4 separate regions of the Homo sapiens genome follow, and all the other regions are linked to region 1. Evidence: promoter capture Hi-C in 16 types of primary human blood cells and fetal thymus (Javierre and others, 2016). All regions are on one chromosome and are shown on one strand. Each heading gives the region's core, a stretch centred on a gene start or on the middle of the fragment in contact. The rest is flanking DNA. Distances are from core to core; before and after follow the strand shown.

Evidence for each region. The method cuts DNA at HindIII sites, captures the fragments that hold promoters and counts their contacts. A CHiCAGO score of 5 or more calls a contact.
Region 2: a fragment that was not itself captured here is called in contact with the fragment with the promoter of FOXO1 in region 1 in 9 of 17 cell types (activated CD4 T cells, total CD4 T cells, M2 macrophages and 6 more); the score reaches 9.7 in activated CD4 T cells.
Region 3: a fragment that was not itself captured here is called in contact with the fragment with the promoter of FOXO1 in region 1 in 17 of 17 cell types (naive B cells, activated CD4 T cells, monocytes and 14 more); the score reaches 12.8 in naive B cells.
Region 4: a fragment that was not itself captured here is called in contact with the fragment with the promoter of FOXO1 in region 1 in 2 of 17 cell types (M0 macrophages and activated CD4 T cells); the score reaches 6.8 in M0 macrophages.

What each region holds. Positions count from the first base shown.
Region 1 is chr13:40,665,367-40,667,942 of GRCh38, forward strand. It overlaps FOXO1 (forkhead box O1), which reads right to left and starts at 1,275. Exons shown (of 3, transcript NM_002015.4): 1 at 217-1,275. The coding sequence starts at 846. RefSeq lists silencers at 424-473, 564-703, 934-1,463 and an enhancer at 2,114-2,163. The HindIII fragment of the contact is 11,472 bases long and covers 1-2,576 here.
Region 2 is chr13:40,043,823-40,046,398 of GRCh38, forward strand. No RefSeq gene overlaps it. Among named protein-coding and RNA genes, the nearest start is that of LINC00332, 140 kb to the right of the region's middle. The HindIII fragment of the contact is 4,479 bases long and covers 1-2,576 here.
Region 3 is chr13:40,080,826-40,083,401 of GRCh38, forward strand. It overlaps LOC124903162, which reads right to left. Exons shown (of 5, transcript XM_047430821.1): 5 at 1-1,491. The coding sequence ends at 1,426. Among named protein-coding and RNA genes, the nearest start is that of LINC00332, 100 kb to the right of the region's middle. The HindIII fragment of the contact is 3,641 bases long and covers 1-2,576 here.
Region 4 is chr13:40,141,710-40,144,285 of GRCh38, forward strand. The region is part of intron 1 of LOC124903162; the gene reads right to left. Among named protein-coding and RNA genes, the nearest start is that of LINC00332, 39 kb to the right of the region's middle. The HindIII fragment of the contact is 2,500 bases long and covers 29-2,528 here.

The DNA of each region.
Region 1 (2,576 bases), core at 25-2,524:
GCGTCCCACGCGAACTCCTGACTGGCGCGCACGCACACCTACTGCCGTCCCCGACCGGACCCGGGCGAGGCCACCGCGACCACCGCTTCTCGCCCGCCCTCCTGGGAACGCGCTGCCCTCCTGCTCCGCACCTTCAGGCCGAGCAAACCTGCACAGCTGCGCCCTCGCCTGACCCACCGCGCCCCCAAGGTCCGGCCGCGCGCCGAGTCCACTCACCTTCCAGCCCGCCGAGCTGTTGCTGTCACCCTTATCCTTGAAGTAGGGCACGCTCTTGACCATCCACTCGTAGATCTGCGACAGCGTGAGCCGCTTCTCCGCCGAGCTCTCGATGGCCTTGGTGATGAGGTCGGCGTAGGACAGGTTGCCCCACGCGTTGCGGCGGGACGAGCTGCTCTTGCGCGGCTGCCCCGCGAGCGGCCCAGCGGCGGCGGGGGGCACCGGCGGGTGCTGCGACAGCGGCCCGGGCGGCGGGGGCTGCGGTGGCGCTGGGTGCAGGCAGCCCGCCTCCGGGCCCTGGAAGTCCCCGCACAGCCCCCCGGTGGCGGCCGCGGCGGCCGCCGCCGCCACCGCCGCCGCCACGGAGCCGGGCGCCTGCGGGAAGTCCTCGCTCTCCTCCAGCAAGCTCAGGTTGCTCATGAAGTCGGCGCTGACAGCGGCAGCCGAGGCCGAGGGCAGGCCCGCCGCGGCGTCGGGGTTGGCAGCCGCGCTGCCCGACGGCGCCGGGCTGGAGGTGGCCGAGTTGGACTGGCTAAACTCCGGCCTGGGCAGCGGCCAGGTGCACGAGCGCGGCCGGGGCAGCGGCTCGAAGTCCGGGTCGATCTCCACCACCTGAGGCGCCTCGGCCATGGTGACCCCCGCCCCTCCCCCAGCCGCAGGAGAGCCAAGAGGGGGAGAACGCAGCACTGGGGGCGGACGGGGAGGGGGCGCGAAGGGACGGTCCGAGATTTGGGGGAACGAAGCCGGTGCGGCGAGCGGACGGAAACTGGGAGGAAGGCGCGGCGGAGTGGAAGCGCGAGCCCAGAACTTAACTTCGCGGGGCCATCCACATCGAGGCTCCTCGGGGTCCGCCGCACGGACTGGACGGCCGGCCAGAGCCGCCGGGCCGGGGCAGAGCCTGCGCCGCGCTCCAGCTGACAGGGCCGCGGACGGAAGGACGGACGGACGCCGCGGGCCGCTTGCTCTCCCCAGCGGCGCGCCCGCTGCGCTGCTGCCTGTTGAATGTGGCGGCTGCGGCAGCGGCTGCTGCGACTACCAGGCCGCCCGACTTACGGGATCTGCCGCCGCCCCCCGCCCGCGGCGGCGCGCGCGCCGGCCCGCCCCTGACCGACAGCCCGCGCGGCCAATGGGCATGCGGCACCGCCGCCCGGGCAGCCAGTGGGCGCCGGGCTGGGTGGGGCCCGGTTTTCCACGGGGAGGCGGCGGTGGGCTGGTGGGGGGTAGTGGGGTGTTTTTCTCTTTCACACACTCACCTCCTTTTTTTTTTTTTGGATCTCTATTATTTTCTGGTAATTCTCGAGTGTTTCTGTGATTCTCTCGCCTTCTCAGTGTTTTGATTGCTAGGAAGCAAACCAGCGTGGAGGCGCCGGCGACACTTTGTTTACTACGGAGCAGCAGAGCCGAGTACTCGGGAAGCCCGGGTGGGAGGAGGCGCTCGCTGCTCCCTGACCTCCGCTGCGGGCCGAGCCCGGCGGGCTGGCAGGGCAGGGGGCCGAGGGCCGGGGGCGCGGGGTGGGCGGGCGGAGGCGGCCGCGAGGAATTCTACTCAATCGCTCCCTCCTGGCTCCACCCACGATGTCTTTGCTGAACGACGTGGGGAATCGGTGGGTTTTGTTTTGGTTTAATGTTTTCTTTCGCTGCGATCTGTCAAGTCCTCCGGCCCCCTCGCGAGCGGCACACGCCCCCCACCCCCGGCGCCGCGGCTCCTGCAGTCGAGTCCGCGCCGAGGGACCCTTCTCCGTGCCCACCGGTCCGCACCCCCGGGCTCAGCCTGTGCCATTCGGTCTAGCCAGAGGCGCGTCACCCAGCCGGCAGCCCCCAGCCGGATTCACTGTATTCTTGACCTTTTTTAAAATGCTAGAAATGAGGAACAGGGGCTCCGGCGCGGGGAGGAGATTATCTGGCCTCCCTGAACACACGAATCCAAAGGCACCCGCGACCGCATGCCCTCCGTGGGAACCTCTTCCCCTGGGCGGGAATCTCCCGCTCCGTCCACTAAGTCCAGGGCCGGCAGCGAAGGGCTCAGGAGCGCAGTTAGAGAGAACCAGGTCATTTTATTACTTATCCCTAATTAAATTTAGCTGTTTGTTACTTCTTTTTTATTTGCAACGGAAGTGATCGGGTGTTAAGTAAAAACGCAAGGGGGGCGGGAGATAGGACCAAAGCCTTGGGGCGCAGCCTGCCCCACCCCCAAATTCCTTGAGGCTACTTGCTGTGTGTGTCAGTCAACCCCCCACCCACACCCCACCTTTCCTCATCTGGGCTGCAGGTCCAGGACATCCTGTCAAGGATCAGTGGGGCCAAAGGTGGGAAGATAATGGCCCTTGTGTCTCAAGCAGAAGAAACAGTTTTCCAGTTTT
Region 2 (2,576 bases), core at 28-2,527, 620 kb before region 1:
GATTAGGAGAAGCACGTGCAGTAAGCCTGACTGCAAGGCTGTTAATGCTGAAAAGAAAGGTATTGGCTAGCCCAGATTACTGGAGAGGAGAGAAAAGGCTAAGTGATTTTGAAACCATTTTTAAGAGTGGAGTGGTGTAACTTAAGCCGCACTGGAATGCTGAGGGATAGGGTTCTTCAGACTTTCTCATGAAGGAGATAAAGCACCAAAAGAACTGGAGTTGGAGCTCCAAACATTTGGCAAAGACCCAAATCTTTTCAGTGGTAATGGTGTGATATTTAAATTGTTCAAGAATACTCTTGGGCATGCTTGATGATCCATGAACATGTAACATCAACTTGGATTTAACTCTTGTTAAACTGGGTCCTTCTAAAGATCATGAGAAACTAACTGTCCTTTTCTCAGGACTCGATGCTGTTAGTTGGCTAATCATCAGTAGGAACTGCACTCTAAATTTCTTCTCCAGTAGTAGTGACAAATTTGTCACAAATGGTTTTCTCTCTCTTGTTTCTCCCACTTATCACCAATGGCTTGTGTTTGCAAAAGACAGCTATGCACTTTGAAGTTAGACCTTACAAAATGTGTGACCTTCAACAAGGTGACTTAACTTCCCCAAGTTGCAGCTTCCTCCTCTGTAACCTAAGAGTAATCAGTGTGCACCTTAGAGATTTCTTCTCAATGTTATACAAGAAGATGCAGTGTAAAGGATTTAGCCCAGTTCTGGCATGCAGTAATTTAACACAAATAACAGTAACTAATATTTATTAAGTGCTTATTATTTGCCAGGCAAAGTTCTAAACACCTTATACATATTAACTCACTTAATAATATTATTAACCCCATTTTTCAGATGTGAAAGTGGAGCTACCTACTTATTGAAAGTTTAAAAAATGAATAAATAATGCTACTTTCTTACTTTCCCAAGCTGGAATAGAATTGAGAGATAGACATTGGAATAAGCCAGATGAATCTCAAAATATTGCTTTTATTATTGATGAAGGCAATCAAAGGAAATACCTCAGATCTTTACCCTTGCTAATATTTTGTCCAAAAAGACAACATGTCCTCCCACTTACAGATATCACTGAACAATTGCAGGTTTTCTCAGGAAGAGCAAGCAAATTATTACGTGCAGAGAGCCCAGAAAGCTCCTCTTTGCTGGAAGTCAGACCTGAAAACAGGAAAGAGATGACCGAACTGAGCATGCCCAGTTCTTTCTCCCAACTCCTCCGTCAGGTAATACTTTCTGCAGTCAGGACAAATAAATAAGGGATGGGGAGAGAACAAGACGTTAGGCTAACAAAAAAATCCCATGATCTAAAAAAATTGAAGCCAGGGTCTAAGAGGTTCTCCAAATGTCATCATCATCATTATCTGTATTAAGATTCCATTTCTTTATATCCAAATATTTAGGATGAACAAGTCTACAGAAACAATGTACAACATGAGAACTAAAGTTAACAAAATTGTATTGTATTAGACATTTTGGTTAAATCAGTAGATTTTTGCTGCTCCTGTCACACACACACAAAGTAACCATGTGAGATGATAGCTTTGTTAATTTGCTTCACTTTAGTAACAGTTTACTATTTATATGTATTAATATCCCATAGCATTGTTGTGAACCTCAAATACACACAATACTATCTATTTTTTTTAAGTTTCATTTCAAAAAAATAAATATTGGAACCTTCAGATTTTAGAAATTTCCATTTCTATCAGTATTGGGAAATTGTGTGTTTCTAAAAATTTGTCTGTTTCATATAAATTTTCACATTAATTAATAATTAGCATAAATATGTTTATATATCACCTTACTATCTTTTCAATGTTTGTAATTTCTGTGGCAAAGTTCCTTCATTCAGCCCTTGATAAGAATAATTTGCACCATGTCTTACTTCTTCTTAATCAGTTGTGCTAGGAATTTATATATTTTCTTCGTCTTAAAAAATTTAATATATTGGCTTTGTTGAATCTGTTGCACATTTGCTTTCTAGTTCATTGATTTTTGTTCTTATCTTTATTATTTCCTTCCTTCCATTTTATTTGGTTTTATTATATCTAACTCTCTGAGATAGATACTCAGATCACTAATTTTGATATTTCTTTTTCAACTACATATATTTGAAAGTCTAAGAATGACTTCAACTGCATACAAGTTTTGATATATATAATTCTCATTATGGTTCAGTTTAAAATATGTTCTAATTTTCATTTTCTAGTTCCACTTTTTTCATTTGCTTTATTTTGTATATTTCTACCCACATTTTAGTGTAGTCAGAGAACATGAAACCTCTGAATAACTTCAATCATTTGAATTTTTACAAGAAAGCTCTATAGCTCAGTATGTTGTCTACATTTTGGTAAATATTTCTTCAGATATTGGGTCAATTTGTTACTTAGTATGTGCAAATCTTCTATACTTTATTAACTTTTTGTCCGCTGGTTGACATTTGGTTCTCTGATTGTGGCTTTATCTACTTTCCCTTTTAATTCAGTGATTTTTTTCCTTATATATTTTGAGGCTATGTTTTTAGAAACATAAATCTAGAATTGTTATATATTCTTGGTGAGTT
Region 3 (2,576 bases), core at 48-2,547, 580 kb before region 1:
ATTCAATCTCATTTGACTGTTGAATGGTTACCCAAACTGTGGTACATCCATGCAAGGGAATATTACTCCGCAATAAAAAGGAACAAACCATTGTAACAGGTAACAACGTGGGTGAATCTCAAATGCATTATGCAGAGTGAAAGAAATCAGACTTAAAAGGCTACATACTAAATGATTACATTTGCAGAACATTCTGGAAAAGGCAAAACTATAGGGACAGAAAATCCATCAGTGGTTGCCAGGGTCTGGAGAAAGAAGAGTCTGACAACAAAAGGGCACAAGGTAATTTTGGGTGGCAAATGACTGTTCCATATGTTGATCATGGGGGTGGTCACATATGAATATGTGTTTCTCAAAAATCCTAGACCTGTACACTAAAAAGAGCAAATTTTAGCACACTTAAGTTATACCTCAAGAAACTGATTAAACATAATAATGAGATAAATTTCTTTTTGTAAAAAGAAGAAAAAATACAAATGGCTAAGTGAGATTATACTATTCTTGGCAGAGCGCAGTGGCTCACGCCTGTAATCCCAGCACTTTGGGAGGCTGAGGAGGGCGAATCACGATGTCAGGAGATCAAGACGATCCTGACTAACACGGTGAAACCCCGTCTCTACTAAAAATACAAAAAAATTAGCCAGGCGTGGTGGCAGGCACCTGTAGTCCCAGCTACTCGGGAGGCTGAGGCAGGAGAATGGCGCTAACCCAGGAGGCGGAGCTTGCAGTGAGCCAAGATTGCGCCACTGCACTCCAACCTGGGCAACAGAGCAAGACTCCGTCTCAAAAAAAAAAAAAGATAAATTTCTTTTTGTAAAAAGAAGAAAAAATGCAAATGGCTAAGTGAGATTATACTATTCTTAACCCCTAAAAGTGTTCAGGTAGGTGTTTTTAGTTGAGAATGATTAAGTTGATAGCTAAGTGTGGGTTAGGATTGGGCAACATCTGCCCAGCAGGGCCAGCTGATTGTTGTTCTGAGAGACCACAGAGACCCTCGTGGGAACAGCATTTCTAACTTGATTTCTAGAATTTGTTGATGGCATAGTTTGGGATGGCAAAGGATGGGTAGGGTAAAAGCCAGAATTGGTGCTTATGGGCACAAGTCCCTAGTGGTTCTCCTCCAGGGCAAAGGGCAGATGTCTGAATGACCTGTGGCCAGAAATATGAGGTGATGCACACGCAGTTTCCAAGTGCTCCACACAGCATCATGCTGAATGCTCCTAAGAACTTTTCACGCCAGGAGCCACCATTCCTGTTGTGTAGGTGACTGAACTGAGGTGGAGGGGAGGTGACTTAGCCAGATCACAGTGAGGAAATGGACTGGAGGCTGGGCCACAGGGCTCCTGAGTTCACGCTTGTTTGCTTGTTTGTTTGTTGATGCTGGTGGTGGTGATGGTGGTGGTGTTCAAATGACATCAAAGCTCTTCATCCTTGATGTGAGTCCATCATCAAAATTTTGAAAAACACCAGACAGAAAAAGATTTTCTCTCCCTGCAAACATAAACACAGGAGTGATTTATAAAAAAATAAAATAAAAGACAAAACAAAGGTCAGAATTTTGTCCAGAATAGTCAGGCTATGGTGACATGAAACCAAGCAGCTGACTTACTAATACAATGGTGTATTTCAGAGGAGCATTTGGGTATGTTGACTACACAACTGAAAACACCTGGATATTTTGTTTTGAGATTAACTGCATGATATCGTCCATGTTGGTCAGGTATCCAGGAATGATTGATTGACACCCTCCCAAGTGAAGACACGGGGCAGTTGAGCACTCCCTGGGCAATTCAGCATCTCACAGAGTTCTGTTGTTATATCTGAAATCACTAGACTCTCCCACACAAAAGAATGGGCAATAAATCAAACCTTTCATACGTCTTCCTGGTACTGAAAAGCCCACTGCTATACTGCACAAGAAACATAGATTGTGGAATGTTTTTCGGTTGGCATAGGAACAGCCTTGGAAATGTTCAGACCAGAAGGGTCAGAATGTTAGGAAGTTTGCAGCAGGAAAAATTCCTGCTGTGACCATGATAAGTTAAATATCCTGACTAGACTCTCTCTTCTCTTTCTGGCACATGGCCTAGCCGAAAGAGCGCCTCGTGTGGTTCTGTAATAGTCACACAAAACAAAATGGACCGCATCCTCCCAAGGCACCCTTGCCCGCAGACCTTTCGAGGCCCTGAAGTGCCTGTATGGGAAACTGAGGCCCAGAAATATGGAGTGCAGGGTTAGTGAGCCTAGAGAGAACATGGAAGTGGGGATGGGACAAGTGCTGTGTGTGCACCATGACATATCACACTGAGTTCCCCTTCTCAGGCCCTGTGTCCGAAAGAGAGCAAGGAGTTTAGAGCTGGCTGAATCCCAACTTGCTGCTACTCCCTGCACTCTGATGATGACAGTGACCCTACCCTGGCACAAACCTCAAGTTTCCTTAGAACCCACTGGCAAGTGGCTCACCTCTTTAGGATGAAGTGAAGAGTATTTCAAATGTCTCTCTTCTCTTTCTCCCTGGAGGTCTGGGAGGGCGTAGGTGGGAAGGTAGGGGAGAGATGGGATAGAGAGGGGCACCA
Region 4 (2,576 bases), core at 29-2,528, 520 kb before region 1:
AGCTGGGTCAGTGGCCAGTGCCCAGGGAAGCTTGGCCAGTTCTTGAAAAGGCCCAGGGCTCTGTGAAAAGACCACAGCCTCTGCTTCTGAACTGGGACCACACAGGTTTGCCTGGGGGTCTCCAGTATGGTGCTGACCATGTAGCCACAGACGACTTCAAGCTACTCCATGATGAAACCCCAGGCTCTGCCTGTTCAGAGTGGGATGAATGAGGAGCAAATTCGCGGGAGCAGGAGGAGCTGTCAGGAGTCAGAGTATGCCGTCATCATCACACACCTCCCTGGCTTCAACAATGCTATTAAAACTCACACATTTCCCCTGTCTGTGTGTATGCGTTGCAATGTAAGTCAAGCAGCAAGATTTTATCTCTGTATCAAGATAATTTATTAACAAGGACGGTGCTGGAACCCTGGCATGATACTTTGAAATGCCAGCTGTGGCTGCGGGCCAATTTAACCACAGTCTGGAAGCTCGATTTAAAGAAATCCATCTATGGCTTATATAGGTAAGTTTATATTATTCTCCTTCTGCATCATAGCCCTTAGGACAAAGTGCATGTGAAGAGAGCTGGTGAAGGGCAGACTGCTACAAACTAGTTGTCGAGTGGTTCAGGAAGGAGACCAGAACTCAAAAACAAATCCCAGGGAATGATTTCTAGTTAGTCATCCTTTGCGGACTGACTTTAGAAATTATGCAAGGGGTGGAAGACGAAGCCTGAGGGTGTTACAAGATGTGGTCCCTGCCTCACTTCATCTTGCCTCCCCTTGCTTCCTCTTGTGCACCCAAAACACTGGCCTTCTGCCTGTGCCTTCAGCTCCCCAGCTCTTCCCTACCTCAGGACCTTTGCACTTGCCAGTCCCTGCTGGAATGTTCTTTCCTCACCTCGGCTTAACTGTCACCTCCTCAGAAATACTTTCCTTGACTACATTATATAAAGTAAACTTTATGCCCTAGTTTCTCTCTCTCTCTCTCTCTCATCCTCTTGTTTCATTCCTTCACAGCACTCCTCTAATTTGAAATTAGGTTGTTTATTTATTTGTTTATTATCTCTCCTGACTAGAATGTAAATGCCGTAAAAGAAGAAATCCGGTTTTACATCCCAGTGCCTTATACATAGAAAGCACTCAATAAACATTGAATGAATGAATGATATTAGCATAATCATTTAAGATTCTTAATGAGAGGAGAAAAAAAACTTTTCTTGATTTCCAAGTAGGGAGAGATGAGGAAATAAAGCAGAAAATGGAAGAATTGTTCACTGCCAATTAGCTTGAGATTGAAACAACCAGAAAAGCAAAAATCTGAATGCGTCATTATAAAATGCAAACAAAGGCAGTTTGCAAATAGGCATGGGATGATGTCCTCATGAAGCAGATGGATTATAAAGTACCGAGGATGACTACCTCCTACCCCTCAAGACCTGTGCCCAGCTCCTGCATATAAGGACAGCATGACTTTTCAGCCCTTCCTAAGAACCCTTCAGCCAGAAACACTTCAAATGAGAGTACAAGAGTCTCGCTGACACCAAGCGCCAGCAAGTCCTTGTCATGTACAGCATCTGGGCAGAAGTAAGAACATCTGTTCCCAGCATGAACCTTATTAGCTTCATCATTTGGCTTTCAACCAAAAAAATGTACAATTATGATACATGGGCTTAATGGGTGGCAAGGTAGCAACTAATGCTCTGCAGCAGATGAGCTCAGGAGCAGGCGTGGCTATGGGGGTAGCGGCCATGCAGCGGGGGCAAGACACACCTAGCAGCAACAGCTCCATTACCTGGAGGCAACCTTGCAGCAACCGCAGGTTCTAGAGACAGAGGACAACTGGGGACTGGAAAGAAGAGAGAGTGAGAAAAAGGAGGGAGAACGGAAGAGGAGGAGAGAGGAGAGAAGGGGAGAAAGTGAATGAGAGGCATGAGAGTGAAGCCATAAAGACCCCACCCAGACATAAAAGTGAGGGTGAGGGAGCGGGGCAGACAAAGTAGCTCTGCCTGGCACATGGTAGAGCAGGATGTCCCACACACTAAAGCAGGGCCGCCTGGGTCTGCACCTCATCTCCACCACTTCCCTGATGTGTGCACTCAGGCAAGCTGCCTCGTCGCTTTGTGCCTTAGTTCTCTCAACCCCTGAGAGGGGAAAATCACAGCACCTACCTCAGAGGGTTGATGTGAGGGGTAAGTGTGTTACTCTGCATAAGGCACTTGAGCAGTACTTGACATGGAGCAAGCTGCCATCATCGCATCATCATCATCATCATCATCACTACTACTACTATCATCATTACTTGTAAGACTGATTTAAATACTCCTTATATACTTGCATATACTCCTTACAGCATGATGAGCTAGGTACCAGTATTATCCCCACATCGCGCAGCAAGCGTGTGGAAGTGAAAAGCTGGGCCTTAGCAATCTGCCTCTGGAGCCCGTGCTCCTTACCATCTCCCAGGCAGGACTCAACAGCCTCCCTAAGAATTGCCCTTGAGCTTGTCACTGCCATAATAAAAACAACAGAAGCAGCACAGACTAAAGCTTATGTCTGGGTTTGTTACATGGAAGGCCAAGAGCAATCTCCTTC